4 separate regions of the Homo sapiens genome follow, and all the other regions are linked to region 1. Evidence: promoter capture Hi-C in 16 types of primary human blood cells and fetal thymus (Javierre and others, 2016). All regions are on one chromosome and are shown on one strand. Each heading gives the region's core, a stretch centred on a gene start or on the middle of the fragment in contact. The rest is flanking DNA. Distances are from core to core; before and after follow the strand shown.

The links. The method cuts DNA at HindIII sites, captures the fragments that hold promoters and counts their contacts. A CHiCAGO score of 5 or more calls a contact.
Region 2: a contact is called between the fragment with the promoter of PRPF40A here and the fragment with the promoter of ORC4 in region 1, in 2 of 17 cell types (fetal thymus and total CD4 T cells). The highest score is 6.9, in fetal thymus.
Region 3: the fragment with the promoter of ARL5A here is called in contact with the fragment with the promoter of ORC4 in region 1 in 2 of 17 cell types (fetal thymus and total CD8 T cells); the score reaches 7.6 in fetal thymus.
Region 4: a fragment that was not itself captured here is called in contact with the fragment with the promoter of ORC4 in region 1 in 2 of 17 cell types (naive CD8 T cells and total CD4 T cells); the score reaches 6.6 in naive CD8 T cells.

The regions. Positions count from the first base shown.
Region 1 is chr2:148,019,002-148,022,810 of GRCh38, reverse strand. ORC4 (origin recognition complex subunit 4) reads left to right here and starts at 2,074. Exons shown (of 14, transcript NM_181741.4): 1 at 2,074-2,178. It overlaps MBD5 (methyl-CpG binding domain protein 5), which reads right to left and starts at 1,720. Exons shown (of 14, transcript NM_001378120.1): 1 at 1,127-1,720. RefSeq lists enhancers at 1,553-1,652, 1,832-2,429 and a silencer at 2,003-2,162. The HindIII fragment of the contact is 3,631 bases long and covers 1-3,016 here.
Region 2 is chr2:152,715,352-152,719,160 of GRCh38, reverse strand. It overlaps PRPF40A (pre-mRNA processing factor 40A), which reads left to right and starts at 1,700. Exons shown (of 26, transcript NM_001365597.4): 1 at 1,700-1,931; 2 at 3,035-3,166. The coding sequence starts at 1,722. ARL6IP6 (ARF like GTPase 6 interacting protein 6) reads right to left here and starts at 541. Exons shown (of 4, transcript NM_152522.7): 1 at 137-541. The coding sequence starts at 536. RefSeq lists enhancers at 371-570, 801-890, 911-980, 447-1,152, 1,701-2,000 and 2 more and a silencer at 1,201-1,300. The HindIII fragment of the contact is 8,844 bases long and covers 1-1,995 here.
Region 3 is chr2:151,826,398-151,830,206 of GRCh38, reverse strand. It overlaps ARL5A (ARF like GTPase 5A), which reads left to right and starts at 1,786. Exons shown (of 6, transcript NM_012097.4): 1 at 1,786-2,076. The coding sequence starts at 2,031. RefSeq lists an enhancer at 1,461-1,510 and silencers at 1,561-2,070, 2,121-2,170. The HindIII fragment of the contact is 9,661 bases long and covers 1-2,702 here.
Region 4 is chr2:151,293,136-151,296,944 of GRCh38, reverse strand. No RefSeq gene overlaps it. Among named protein-coding and RNA genes, the nearest start is that of NMI, 5.4 kb to the right of the region's middle. The HindIII fragment of the contact is 4,328 bases long and covers 1-3,809 here.

The sequences.
Region 1 (3,809 bases), core at 825-3,324:
TCAATTTATAGCTAACTGAAATTAATATACTAACTATAAGTTCATGATTTCTTTGACTCATGAAAACATATTTTAGAAATTTGTGTACTTTTACATACAGTGGGCAATTTGGTTCAGAACCCCAAGAGAAATTGAGATGAAAAACTCATCTCAATTTACAACAGTAAATAAATAATTCAGCTAAAACTGAAAGTGGTACCAATCCAGCAAACTATTGATGGAGAGGTTTGGCCTTCCATGCAGCCAGAACAACATAAAGTTTTCAATGGGGATTACTTGTTCAGACAAGTTACAAAGATTACAAATATACCCAGATTAATTATAAAATAGCTAATATTCTCATCATATGGAAAATAAGTATCAGGAACGTATGTGGGAACAGACAATAGCAGTGGCATTTAAACTTTAAGCATTTTAGAGCTTTGGACTTTATATACTGATATATGAAACAGACATTTAACCAAAAAAAAAGCAATAATGCAAGTCAAAACCTAACCAAAGGCCTCTACCAACTAAAAATTTGAAATTTTCCATGGAAGTCAGACAAAACGAAAAAATGGAAAATGAAACCCTTAAAGCAAAAACCAATCAAGTCTTCCAACACTGAAGTCAATATCCAAATCTCATACAGGACCAAAAAGGGGAAAACACTCAGGTCTACAAATGGATAAGCAGTTCCAATACAATCCAGATCCCGACATTTTCCCACTCAGAAACAAATGCAGTGGAGCTTTTCCTGGAGAAAAAGAGCTCTCCAATGAATTTTTTTTAAGTGACATCTAGAAAGTGTGCCTCTTTCTGTCTCTTTCCCTGGCGCCTCATTGGAGGAAGGAGGGGGTTGTTTTTGTATTCTCCCCCACTGGAGCAAGACACAATCAGATGTTAGATGGAGGAGAGAAACCACTTTTGACAACAGCAAATAAAAATAAAAGTGCCCTTCCTCCCCTGACAGGATGGGCACCCCACCTCACACACCCCTCCCTACTCCAACCCCTCCTTCACCCCCCCCAGCACCACCCCCTCCTCACCCCGGAGCTCCACTGCGTATGTGGTTTGGTGCTACTGTTGCCCCGGAGTGAAAGTCAGAGCCAGAGGAAGGCAATGAAGCCCCCACAGACACACTTACCTTTCCTGCCCCCCACTTTTGAGTGCCTTCCCTGGAGCTGTGGAGGATGACACAAAGGGTAATAAAGGGGGGGAGTGGAGGAGGAGGAGGCGAAGGAGGAGGAGGAGAGCTGGGGAAGTGGCTGCTCCTGGGTGTAGTGAGATGTCTCCAGCCAGGGCCAAGCAGCAGCAGTAGCAGCAGCAGCAGTAGCAGCAGCAGCAGCAACAGCAGCAGCAGCAGCAACAGCAGCAGCAAAGGGTCTGTGTTGCTAAGAGGCTTTTGGTTTCTTTCTCTCCTCCTCTCACGGCCAAAGAGGAGGAGGGTGGAGGGAGGGAGGCGAGTTGGAGGGGTGAGGGGGTAGGAGTCGTGGATGGGGGTTTTCGAAGAAGAAGAAACTCCTTCTCCTCTCTCAGGCTCAATCCCCCTCTCAGGGCTCAGGGCTGGAGGGTGGGGGAAGGAACTCAGCCGCCTTCCCCCCACCCCCCTGAATTCAAGGTTGAAGTGGGGTAGAATTAGTGTCCTGTCCCTTTAAAAATAGAAATAAAAGGTGCCCCCCCTCTGCCACTGCCTCTCTCTTCATCATCAGCTGCTGCTGCTGCTGGGGTCTCTCTGCTTGGGGGGGAGGGGGGGTTCGGGTAGAAGAGACGGGAGGCACTCACTGCGCATGTCCCTCTCTGACGGGTGGCTGGTTGGTTGAAGGCAGGAGGAGGGGGAGGGGAGGAAATGAGCTATTTTCCCAGAAGGCGTCGAGGCGCTAGCGACCCGGAAGACATTGTAGCGGGAGGTACAGGAGCGGGGGCGGGGAGGAGGAGGAAGTCGCTACGCTTTTAACACCCCCAGCTCCCTCCTCCTTCCTAAGGGAAAGTGGAGGAACGGAAGTGGGCGTGGACGGAGACGAAAGGAGGTCACGTGTTTGGGCGGGAGAGGGGCGGGGTGGGAGAGGTAGTGCGTGCGCGGGGCATGCCGGGAGTGGTTGTGTACGGTCCGCAGCGGCAGGTGAAGTCTAGCAGAGGACGCGGCCAGGCGATTCGGTGAAGCGATTCCTGCAGGCGTTGGTTCCCCTCTTTGACCTGGTAAATGCAGGCTTTTATGCGAGAGGTAATGGTGGGGGTAAACTTGCTGCAAACGAAGGCCAGGGGCGTCGGTGGCGCAAGGTGAATCGAAAGTGGGAGGATGGAAGGCTGTGGAGATTGGGAATTGGGAAGGGGGCAGGCTTGTATAGGCCGGGAAGGCCAGGACCAGGCGAGCTCCGTCTTGTGGCCACTCCCGCCCCGTGAGCTTGCCGAGGAATCCTTGACAAGTGCAGGGATCCTGAGTCTACCTCTGCATCGGGGTAGTAGGTGAGGAGCGTGACGGTCCGAGTGTAAGAGAGAAGGGAACTGTGAAGCCTCAGCAATTGACCCTCATGACTGCAGGACGGAGGACTTCTATCTAGGGACAGAGACAAGTCCTCTGTATGCATTTTGACCAGATGCATCACACGCGTTGCTCATATTGGATATTGCGCCCTTCATGCCTTACCTCTCAACCCTCCCTGGTATTCTGGAGTGGCTTTGGGGAAGGAGCAGGCAGGGAAGTCTTGAGTGGAGCTTCCCTCCATGTCTTGCGTTGTTGCTACAACACAAAGCCTTTGCTTTTTCTCGGAGAGGGATGTGGGATTGTGTAGTCCTTAATGTTGAGTTCTACGATTGATGAAGGAGAAGGGACGTGATCAAAGTTTCCCCTTATAGTGTAGATGAGAGTTTTAAAAGGACTGTTTTGTCAAGTTTCTTTGGTTACTATTCTTAGTTTTTGAGCCTTTGGTTTCCCAAATGCCAGCTGTTTTTGCTGAAAATAATGAATTTCTATCATAAAATTAGAATTAACTCAAAATATTTAAGAAAGGATTTATAAATTTACATTAGTAAAGCTTTTATAGTGAAACAGTGCTGGTTCTTTTTCATTGTTTTCATACAATCAATATAAAGCATCACAGTCTCAATATGTTTTGTAAAGATATTTTGAAGGAATATCATCTTTGTATGTTTTTTAAAAACCAAGAATCTAAAATTCTTCGTATTTATTATGTTGGTACTTAATTCTGTTGGGTGGGTTCTTTTTGTTTGTTTTTTGTTTTGAGACGGAGTCTCGCTCTGTCTCCCAGACGAGTGCAGTGGCGCGATCTCGGCTCACTGCAACCTCTGTCTCCTGGGTTCAAGCAGTTCTCCTGCCTCACCCTCCCGAGTAGCTGAAACTACAGGCATGTGCCACCACGCCTGGCTAATTTTTTTGTGTTTTCAGTAGGGACGGGGTTTCACCATGTTGGTCAGGCTGGTCTCGATCTCTTGACCTCAAATGATCCTCCCGCCTCGGCCTCCCAAAGTGCTGGGATTACAGGCGTGAGCCACCGCGCCCGGCCGGTGTAGGTTCTTTAGGTGTACACTATCAGTTAAAGTTACTAATTTTCCACGTTTTGCTTTCTGTAAGTTTGGGCAGTGGACCCCGTTTATGCATCATTGCTTAGCCCTTAGTATCTTCTGTATTGTGTACGGTAATCATGTCCGATGGAATCAAAACTAGACTCCTGTGCTTTAAAATTTTCTTTGTAGTGTAACCAATTGTCTGTCTTTATAGTGTAACCAATTGTCTGCCACTTTGTAATGAAAAAAAAAAATACCAGCAAGGCAGTTAATGTGCCTTAGCTACAATTTTAAATATTTTGTGT
Region 2 (3,809 bases), core at 451-2,950, 4.7 Mb before region 1:
GCAAATGAGGACTCTGGGTGAAAGCAGCTGCCAGCCTGAGGGCTTAGCGCGAGGGAAAGGGAGATGGGTGGAGACGAGAGCCACACCCTGGCTCAACTTTACTCTGGACAGACTTTCAAGGCGTCGGCTTCAATACCTTTAACGATCAAGTAGGCGATGGCGAGGAGGAAGGCGAGAAGAATGGCGAAGAGCAGCGAGCAGAGAATAGAGAGGACCTGGACCGGCCACCGCCGAGGCTGGGCTCTGCTGCCCGCGGCCGCGGGAAAGATACCATTGCGCTTATCGGGCAGAACGGGCGACCCGTTCCCGTCCGGCGGGAGCACCGAGCGCTTTCTGGGCTCTGACCACGCCCCAGCCGAGAACTCCGCCCGCAGGTCGCGGGCCACTTGGTCGCATCCCTCCTCCTCGTCGACTTCGCCTTCACCCCAGCTGTCCCCCTGAGTAAAGGAGGAATACGATGGCCGAGCCACAGGGCCCGGGGTGCCGGGACCGCGGCGCCGCAGAGCCGACCGCCACCCGCTCTCAGCAAACGACATGGCGCGAAACACAACGAAACCCGCGGAGAACGAGCCTCTCCCACCTGCCCCGCCCCGGGTCCGCAACAGCCAATCCGCGGCAGTGGCCGCTACCACCAGGCCTCAGAGCCCAGGGGTAAACCACGGAGAGCAAGGGTGGGCGGCGGGTTGCAAAGGAAGCCGCAGGGCCAAAGGAGAGGCGGAATGCGCTTCGACCAGAGCTCGACCCCAGGGCTGTAGCCGGAAAGGGGAGCAGGAAAGCGCGCAGGGAGAAGCGAGCGGAGGCCGAAGGCTGTCGAGTATCCACTCCCTGCGGGGCTTCGTCCCGGCCGGAGACCTCCGCCACCCCCGCGTCACCAACGGGAGCGCGCGCCCCGACAGCCCCAAAGCCTCATCTTTTCGACGCCGGGTCCTAGCGCCCGCTCGCGCCCTCGGAGACACATTCCCGAACCTATTTGTCTTCTCCCTTCTTCCCCACTACGCTCACACTCTTCTCCAGGTTCCCCCATTAAGGGCACCTCTCTACCTGGCGCTCTCGCGGTTCCTTAACTGCTCACCCCCATCTCCCTTTAGTGTGGTTCTCCCCACCCGTACTACAACTTCCCTCCCGCTACTCGACACGCCTCCTTCCCCAGGCGCGCGCTCTCCACCTGGTGCGTACGGAGATCGAACCCTCTCCTCCGAACCCCTCCTTTCGCCTTCCCCGCCTCCTCCCCTCCGCCTCGAGCACCGCGCGCGCGCATTCGGTCCCAGCCACCGCTAACACTACAGGCTGCTTACCCCCGCCCCCTCCACCCTACCCCTGGCGGCCTCAGGTTTGTGGGGCGTACGTAACTCGGGCGGGGAGGGTGAAGGTGGCAGACCCCCACTGCCCCACCCCCTACGGGGTGAGGCGGTCTAAGCTCGGGAAGCTGGGACACTGTTGTCTTCCCTTCCCCTGGGGAAGTTGGTAGAGTTTTCCCGACGGAGGACTCGGCGCAGAAACTTCCTCCGTCCTCCTCCTCCCCCCCCCCCATGCAGGCGACGCCGAGTGAGGCTGAGGCTGGGGGCGAATCGCCGCAGAGCTGCGTGTCGGCGGCGCATTCTGATTGGACAGCGGGGAAGCCCGTCAGCCTGTTGGCCCCGCTGATCCCGCCCCGTAGCGCAGGGCAGCCTTTAACCTTTAGCCCCAGTGGGCGCCAGCCACTCAGATCGCTTCTTGTTGGTATGTGTAGCGGCAGTGGCCGCCGGCGGAGCAGTCTGAGCCCGACGATGAGGCCGGGGACGGGAGCTGAGCGTGGAGGCCTCATGGTGAGTGAAATGGAGAGCCATCCTCCCTCGCAGGGTCCTGGGGACGGGGAGCGGAGATTGTCCGGCTCAAGCCTCTGCTCCGGCTCTTGGGTCTCTGCTGACGGCTTCCTGAGGAGACGGCCCTCGGTAAGGGATCAGTGGGGCAGGGGGAAGGCGGCACAATGAAAAACGGAGTGAGAAACAGGAAGCTTTCTCCGAAAGGAGAAGAAGATAAGAGTGGACGAAGGAAGAACTCGAGATGGTGGGATATGTTCTGAGGGAGAGAAGTGGAGGGTGGAAATGCACAAAGAGAAGGATGTGAGACCCTGGAAGTTCCCCGTGGGCTTGGCCTAGACAGATGCGTGGTGAAGGTGCTGGCTCTTGGGCGGGGTGAGCGTCTTGGAGCTTTAGGCCCGATTTTAGCTGGGAGGGGGAGGCAGGGGCTTGATACTGTAAGACTTTAACAGCGGCTGCCAAAATTTGTTTTCATTAGTCGTCGGGGTGGTCTGCAGGGGGAACTGTTGGGACAATTGGCAGGAGATAATTAGGTGGTTTTAATTTAAAACATAGAACAATGGACTCATCGGTAAAGAAAGTAGTTGTCTTTTTAAACTGCGTTAAAAAGGATGAATTAGTTGTTTGCATTTAGTGTCCGTGAGTGACAGAACCTCAGTCTTTGAAAATGTATTTTTGGCAGAAGGAATTTTACCTGTCTTAAAGGTTATGTTAGGAAATAAGTTTGTTAGGAGTGAATTGTGCCTGGGTAGCCATACTGTTTGTGTTTTGTAAGACCGACTCTCACCTGAGTTAATTGGATAGAGCATTTTAAAGTTTAAAATCAGTAGTGTTATAAAATAACAATAGCTGGCTATCTTTTATATCTGCATGAAATAGGAGAGTTGTTGTTTTCACCATAACAGTTTTAAAATTAGTATTCAATGTGTATCCTCCAAGCTTAGCAAGCCAATTAGTAGCTGGTTAAGTCAGTGCTTAAAAAAAAGAGAGAGAAAACCTATGATCCAGCGGTCCAGGATTCATCTTAACTTTTCCCATTTTTTTACGGAATTTGCAAGCTCGTTTTAAATACTAGCAGAATGCGTTTTGTTTGAAACAAGGTATAGACTAATCCAATGATGTTATTACACATAAGCTTAATATTATGTCGCTTCAGATAACTGATCTGTTGAAATGAGATTTTTGAGAAGCATTTAGTATTATTTGCTCATTTAAAAATGTTCACTGTTTTTCAGATGGGGCACCCTGGCATGCATTATGCCCCAATGGGAATGCACCCTATGGGTCAGAGAGCGAATATGCCTCCTGTACCTCATGGAATGATGCCGCAGATGATGCCCCCTATGGGAGGGCCACCAATGGGACAAGTAAGACTGTTTTTGTTTTATTTTGCATTTATTTATTTGTTTTTGCCTCAGGTATTCTATCAAGATTTCAGAATCTAGGTCAGTAGTTATAGCTGTTTAATGATTAGTTTATGCCCGAATAATTTCAAATAAGCCAAATGTTAAATCATGACTGTAACGGAAATTTGAATAATGGAAAAGTCTTCTGAGAAATTTAAATAATGAAAAAGTCTTCTGAGAAATTTACTGATGACCTCAAAACTAAGAATTTTTTTCTTTATTATTTAAAAGTAAAGTGTGGATCCAGGCTTTTATTTTTAATGATTATTTTTTCAAGAATGCCAATTGAAGTTGATGGTCTAAGTAAATATTATCTGATACAGCAACATAACTGATTTTGGTAGACCATGTAAATAAATAGAATCTGAAAATAGCTATTGTTTTGGTTTAGAGCGAATTTTATTCCTGAAATATCTTCCTCTTTGTGTGTTGGAGGAGGGTGAGGGAGGGTGGGGAGTTTGTGCTCTATAATTCTGATTCTTCATAGGACAGTGCCAATAGGTAGTTCATTTTCCACTTATACTATTTTTTTTTAATGCTTGTTGCTTCTACACTCCTGCTTATGAGCTGTCCCTTCCATCTCTAGCATAAATTGTAAATGGAC
Region 3 (3,809 bases), core at 537-3,036, 3.8 Mb before region 1:
ACTCAAATGATTCCTGACCCGTTGTAATCTCTGGGAATCATTTGCATTACAGTTTCCTGGTACTTATTTTTCCTCAGGAATTGTGACTGACCAGCCTCTTGGGGGTTCATACTGCACGAGCACAAATTGATATGCAGCCAAAGACTCAATGGCCCCTTAACAGGTTTCCAGAGCTTTTCTCTGTGTAGCTCCCTCCTTCCAGTTACTCTGCTTCACAAATTCTAGTCACCTTGATCTCTGGGAATGCTGATATGCGTCTTCAGTTCTAAGAGGTTTCCAGATTCTCATTTGGGTTCCCACTTCCTCCGTAGTTGACTGGGAATTGCTTTTAGGGATAAAGTCCAGGAAATGGTAAGACTCCACCTGTTCCTTTCTCTTTTGCAAAGAATCACAGTACTGTGATGTGTTTTTCAATATCTGAAATGTCGTTGCCTGTACTTTGTGCAGTTTTCTATTTGCTAATGGTAGGAGGATATATTCAAACCATCCTACTCTCTCATGCCTGAAGTCAGAAGTCTCTCCAATGACATTTTGCATTTCTCTGTAATCATAGATAAATTGGTCTTTAAACTCTCTGTCTCTGTCTCTCTCTCTCTCTTCTTTCTTCACTCGGAAAATAACCTGGGAGACCATTTCCTTGGGTAGATTGTAAAATATGAAGCTCCGCCATCACATAATGTGTATATGACATCCATTTCATAAGTTGACATCTGTGTGGGAGTCTGAAAAAGTCTTAGAGCTACCAAAGCATTACCTACGGTGTGCGAGAATGGAAATATTACAGAGTTAATGCAAATTGGTTATACAAACTACATTGTTCTTCTAAACAGTGTACAGAATATTAAGTAAATCCAGACATGATAATACATAAATTAATATGGATTACTATGATTTTCCTTCCCTTCATGTATGGCTCCTCTAAACTTTGGCTTTTTAACCATAAAGCCCCAAAAGAAGTCAACGAAATTACTTTTCTATATTTTGAGGTAAAATACTGGGTAGTTAGGAGAAGTGAGTTGGGAAGGTGCGGTTTATTGCTGATTTTGCTTAATTTCATTCAGCTGTTGGGGATGGGAGTGCAAAGCAGTTCAAATGGCTCCTACAAGTCTCCCAATTTTTCTTTATTTTCCTTTTTACTAAGGTTAACGAGAACAGAAAGGGATGGAGCTTTGGTGGCCACTAAAGGTTTTTAAACAGGGTAGTGACTTGATCAAAATCGTTGTTTTGGGCAATACTGACGTGAGAGTTAAGAGATTGGAGAGAAAAGAGCCCTGAAGTGCAAAAATGGCTTTAAGGTGACTATCTAGGTAAGGCCACTGACTTCAGCTGAGTGTCAGAGGGCAGCAGACTTTTCCCTCAAAGACCCACAGGGGACACAATGTCTTAAAGAGTCATGACGTGGAACTTTAAGTGTAGTGTATGTGAAGGGTTGGGGATGGACATGGGGTACTCAATTATATGTTTACATTATGGCGCAGTGGAGAAGATTCGAGGGAAATATAAATACTCGGGGACGCAACAGCAAGCAGTCGGAAGCCATCTGCCCCAACTTGCGGTCTTCACAGCCTCAGTCCCAGGGTAAAGTCCTGCGCCTTCCGCAGTCTTGGTTATGCAAATAAGCGAGGACAGGGCGGGCGCCCTTTCCTACGCTCCGCCCCTCTGGCCGCGCGCCTGCGCACTCACGTCCCTCCAGGCCCGCCCCTTCACTTCCCCCGCCCGCGTGGTCGTCGCCACCGCAGCCGCCCGAGAGGAGCTGGGGGAGGACGGTGGCCCGCGAGGCTCGTCGCAGACAACGCGGCGGCGATGTCCGCGAGCCAGGCGAGTGCCGCGGCGGCAGCGGCGGGGCCTTGCGCGCGGCAGGGCGGCCTGGGCTTCGGCCTCCCTCCGGTTCCCTGGAAGCGGGCCCGCGACCAGCGCGGGAGCAGCAGCAGAGGCGGAGGCTCCAGCGCGTCTCTCTCCTCCCCCTCAGCCTGAGCCGGGGGAAGCCAGGCGGCCCGGGTGTCTGGAGGGGGGGGGTCCGCTGCCCGAGAATGGGAATTCTCTTCACTAGAATATGGAGACTGTTCAATCACCAGGGTGAGGAGCTCGGTCCGCGGGCGTACGGGTTGGGGAGAGGGTCAGCTCGGGCCGGCTAGGTGGGGGTCTCCGAATACTTCGGAATGTGGGCGGCTCGGTCGGGCGCCAGCTCAGCGCGGGGTGCAGGCTGCGCGGATACGGGCCCGGGACGGTTCGGTCCCGGCTCCCGAGCTTGGGGATGGTTCCTGACTCGCAGCCCTTTGTCTTAGGAGACCTTCCTAAGAAGTCTTTTCCGTAATAGACCCATTGCTCCGATTTCGAATGAGAGTGGTAAAGGTTTCTTGCCCTAGGTCCGACGTCCCTGAGTAGCACGGCCTGGCCTGTCTTTCAGCCCTTTCTTTGCTCACCAGTTGTGTTTGGACACCACATAGAAGTGCTGGGGTCTTCTGGAATGAAGGTTATAGATTGCTGCCCTAACCGCACCACTGAGCGACCGAGGGTTGCAGAATGCGGAAAACGGGAGGAATCGCTCGACTTGTCCATTACACCTCTGGTTTATGAGCCTGCCCTCCACTGCCACCCGTCTTTGTGTGTGTTGGGGGCAGGGGGGGTTCTTCTGCCTCCTGAATAGAGATGGACTTCTCTCCATTTGTTTTACTTATTATATCTGTGTTTAAGGTTAAGCTTAAGGTCATTTTTCTACTCGTGTGGGTTATTAGACACAGTTTTTGTTTGTTTTGCTGGGTTAAAAATGTTAAAGTGTTTCACTGAAAGTTTTAAAAACATACCATATGAAACATTTGTTAACCATAGGTAACTAGCAAGTTACTAAGTGTAAAGTGTGTTATATAGGGATGCTTAAGTTCAGCCAACTTCAGACATGGCCATGAAATACCTATCAGGCTTGTTAAAATTTGTTACAAAATGACTAAAACTGGGGAAAGAGAATACAATTTTAACCCAAAGACTGGATACTTATTAAGATACAGTGGTGTACTTTTGTTTCTTTTTAACTCAAGTTGGGTGGTTCATCATTCCGCTGTCAGGAACTTAGTTTGTGTTTTTCTGTTGTGTAAGCTGATGGTGTCACGTCCCAGTTTTCCAATAAAGACTTACGTGAATGGTGGCATCTATTATGTACACCTACTACTACCACCTCCTCCTTCATGATCTAGCTGCTCTTTTAAGAAGCTTAGGGGAAGCAAGCAGAACTAGAACTTGTGATCCCTAATGTATCTTTTACGCACACACACACACACACAGATGTGTAGGTCACGTGATACCGAAAGAAAGGGCAGTATCAATTTTTCTGATAAGAGGATTTTTCATAAAGTAGAGAAAATCAGTTCTAATCAGCACTGTCTCTGACTGGACTGGCTGTTAGTGTTGGGAGCAGGAGAGTGGGAAGCAGTCACTTGAACTCTCAGGTTTTCTGGTCTAGGTTTTCTCACCTAGAACACCAGGGATCTGTGGAGCTTCCAAATCTTGTAAACTTTATTTCTACATTGCAAATATTAAAACGTACATTGCTGTAAGACTGATGGTACTTATAGTAGATAAGATCTATTCTAGTTTTAACATCCATCATTTTGTATTATTTTTAGCAAAGCTAGTGTTTCATCTGCTGTGAGGTTTAGCAAGACTGTGAATTGAGCTCTAGTGCTGCCAGAAAAAGAGTTATCACCACTTTCTATTTTGAGTCAATGATAAAATTATTTGTTTCTGTAAGTTAAGAATAAATGAGAACTTTGCCAACAGCTCCTTGGAGTAGTAAATAATAAGGGTGTGTGCTC
Region 4 (3,809 bases), core at 863-3,362, 3.3 Mb before region 1:
CTGCTTTTATTCTCTTATCTGGCCCCACCCACACACCCTGCTGATTGGTCCATTTTACAGAGAGCCGATTGGTCCATTTTACAGAGAGCTGATTGGTCCAACAGGGTGCTTACTGGTGCGTTTACAATCCCTGAGCTAGACACAAAAATTCTCCATGTCGCCACTAGATTAGCTAGATACAGAGTGTCCACACAAAGTTTCTCCAAGTCCCCACCAGAGTAGCTACAGAGTGTTGACTGGTGCATTCACAAACCCTGAGCTAGACACAGGGTGCTGATTGGTGTGTTTACAAACCTTGAGCTAGATACAGAGTGCCGATTGGTGTATTTACAATCTCTTAGCTAGACATAAAGGTTCTCCAAGTCCCCACCAGAGTAGCTAGATACAGAGTGTCCATTGGTGCATTCACAAACCCTGAGCTAGACACAGGGTGCGGATTGGTGTGTTTACAAACCTTGAGCTAGATACAGAGTGCTGATTGGTGTATTTACAACCCCTTAGCTAGATATAAAGGTTTTCCAAGTCCCCACCAGACTCAGGAGCCCAGCTGGATCCTGCACGGGGGCCGCAGGTGGAGCTGCCTGCCAGTCCGGTGCCGTGCGCCCGCACTCCTCAGCCCTTGGGTGGTCCATGGGACTGGGTGCGTGGAGCAGGGGGCGGCGCTCGTCGGGGAGGCTCGGGCCCCACAGGAACCCACGGAGGCGCGGGGGAGGCTCAGGCATGGCGGGCTGCAGGTCCCGGGCCGTGCCCCGTGGGAAGGCAGCTAAGGCCCGGCGAGAAATTGAGCACAGCAGCTGCTGGCCCAGGTGCTAAGCCCCTCACTGCCCGGGGCCGCCCGCCGCTCTCAGTGCGGGGCCCGCCAAGCCCACGCCCACCCGTAACTCGCGCTGTCCTGCAAGCACCGCGCGCAGCCCCGATTCCCCCCGCGCCTCTCCCTCCACATCTCCTCGCAAGCTGAGGGAGCCGGCTCCGGCCTTGGCCAGCCCAGAAAGGGGCTTCCATAGTGCAGTGGCGGGGCCAAAGGGCTCCTCAAGTGCCGCCAAAGTGGGAGCCCAGGCAGAGGAGGCGCCGAGAGCGAGGGAGGGCTGCGAGGACTGCCAGCACGCTGTCACCTCTTACAAGAAACAGCACCATCAGCATCATCTAGGAGCTTTTGGAATGCAAAATATCCACCCTAATCCTACAGAATCAGAATGTATATTTTAACATGATCTTCAGCTGATTTATATGGACATGGAAGTTTGTCAAACACTGGTGTACAGAAAGTCTTCTTGCCCAAAAACATATTTTTCCCTATCTTGTAACTATGCCACACATTTCAAGGGAGATCCACAGAAATAATTTATTATATCAAGATATATATTAGGCTGGGCGAATATATATCTTCGTAGATACATATTAATCTATTTTGATAGATTAATTAGGTGGTGGCTCATGCCTGTAATCCCAGCACTTTGGGAGGCTGAGGCTGGTGGATTGCTTGAGTCCAAGAGTTCGAGACCAGCCTGGGAAATGTGGCGAAACCCCAATCTCTATAAAAAATATACACATAAAAAATTAGCCGGCTGGGCGTGGTGGCGTGCACCTCTGGTTTCAGCTACTGGGGAGGCTGAGGTGGGAGGATCTCTTGAGCCCCAAGGCAGAGGTTGTAGTGAGCCAAGATCACGCCACAACACTCCAGCATAGGTGAGTGAGACCCTTTCTCAAAATATATATATGTGTGTGTGGGGGGGGGGGGCGGCGGGAGGGAATTACATTCCTATACTTAGGCTCACTAAGACCAACCAGAAGACAAATTTAACGTAGTACAAAAAGTTGAGCTCCTTTGCCTCTTACTTTTTTTTTTTTTTTTTTTTTTTGAGACGGAGTCTCGCTCTGTCACCCAGGCTGGAGTGCAGTGGCGCGATCTCGGCTCACTGCAAGCTCTGCCTCCCAGGTTCAAGCGATTCTCCTGCCTCAGCCTCCCGAGTAGCTGGGACTACAGGTGCCCGCCACCACGCCCTGCTAATTTTTTTGCATTTTTAGTAGAGACGGGGTTTCACTGTGTTAGCCAGGATGGTCTCGATCTCCTGACCTCGTGATCCGCCCACCTCGGCCTCCCAAAGTGCTGGGATTACAGGTGTGAGCCACCGCGCCCGGCCACCTCTTACGTTTTTTAAAATTCTGGATAGGTTAGTGACTAGTGAGTTTCTTTGTTGCAATCATTTGATACCTCTTGTAAAGTACTATTTCAGACAGGAAAATAATCAGAAACAACATATTCAAACACCAATCCAAATCTTGCTGCTTGACAATTTCTAGAATGCCTCTGGCAGCCCCATCAGGCAAAACAGACTACAAATTCCCAAATTAAAAAACATAGTCAAGGCTGGGTGCGGTGGCTCACGCCTGTAATCCCAGCACTTTGGGAAGCTGAGGCAGGTGGATCACGAGGTCAGGAGACCGAGACCATCCTGGCTAACACGGTGAAACCCTGTCTCTACTAAAAAACAAACAAATAAAACAAACAAACAAACAAACAAAAAACAATTAGCCGGGTGTGGTGGCGGGCGCCTGTAGTTCCAGCTACTAAGGAGGCTAAGGCTGGAAAATGGCGTGAACCCGGGAGGTGGAGCTTGCAGTGAGCCGAGATCGTGCCACTGCACTCTAGCCTTGGCGACAGAGCCAGACTCCATCTCAAAAACAAACAAACAAAACAAAAACAAAAATAAACAAAAATATAGTCAAGCAAAATACATGTCTTTTAGTATTTCCTTAGCTGTTTTCACTATGTTTATGCATGTTTTCTTAAAAACTGAGCTCCCTGAGAAGCTGAATTGACATATTTGGATGCTTTGCTCAATTCTTTCTCATTTGAGATTTTTGGCGATAAAAGTTAATATTTTTATTTTTCCAGCATTCCAAGGCTATGTTCTCTTTGGGTCTCTGAAAACCTCAAGATTCACTGGGCTTTTTCTCCTTTGTGATTTTAGGTTCAAAGCAAACAGTTGGGTTTATCCGACCATCAGTTCATCCTATGAGAGTTCTGTCAGAAGCCATTTTTGGTTTATAATTGAGAAAAGCAAAGCAGGAAAACATCAGCAGTATTCTCAGACTTTCTTTAAGAAATTTCCTTAATATAATATTGAGATTTACTGCTATCTTACAGCCTTGAATACTACAGATAAATGTTTATTTTTGAGCCTTTAGTTTATAAGCAAAACACTAATTGTTCTTCTTTATAGCATTGTCAAGGATACCAACTTTATTCTCTATGTACTTTATTTAACACAACAAAATTTTCTAAGTGATTGTTTATGTTTATATGATAAATCAGTGGTCCAGGCAGATTTGACAAGATAAAGTCCTTTATTCTTTAATTTTATTATTATTATTTTGCTTGAATTTATTTCTATTTCTAAGTATTTGATCTACCTCATAATATTTTATTCACTTATAAAAACTTATTCACACACATGAGTATGAAAAGCTATACAAAGGGGTTGTTATAACATTGGGTCCAGAGTATTTTACTCCTACTCTAGTATTTAATGACTAGTTAGAAATAACTATTTATACAGTGTGCACTAGGTACAGTTACTGCAGGTAACATAAAATAAATTTTTAAATGACCTTATTTCTTAAAAGTACTTTTCTAGGGAGGAAGAACAAAGATAAAGAAAATGTAAGAGAAAAATTGAAAAAAAATCTCACCGTAGTATAAGATGAAACAAGTACAATTTAGTGAGTGCTTTCCATGGGCAGAGCACTGTGTTTAGTCCTTGAAATGCATCTCTATCTCATGCACCACACCTTTATTTTATAGATGA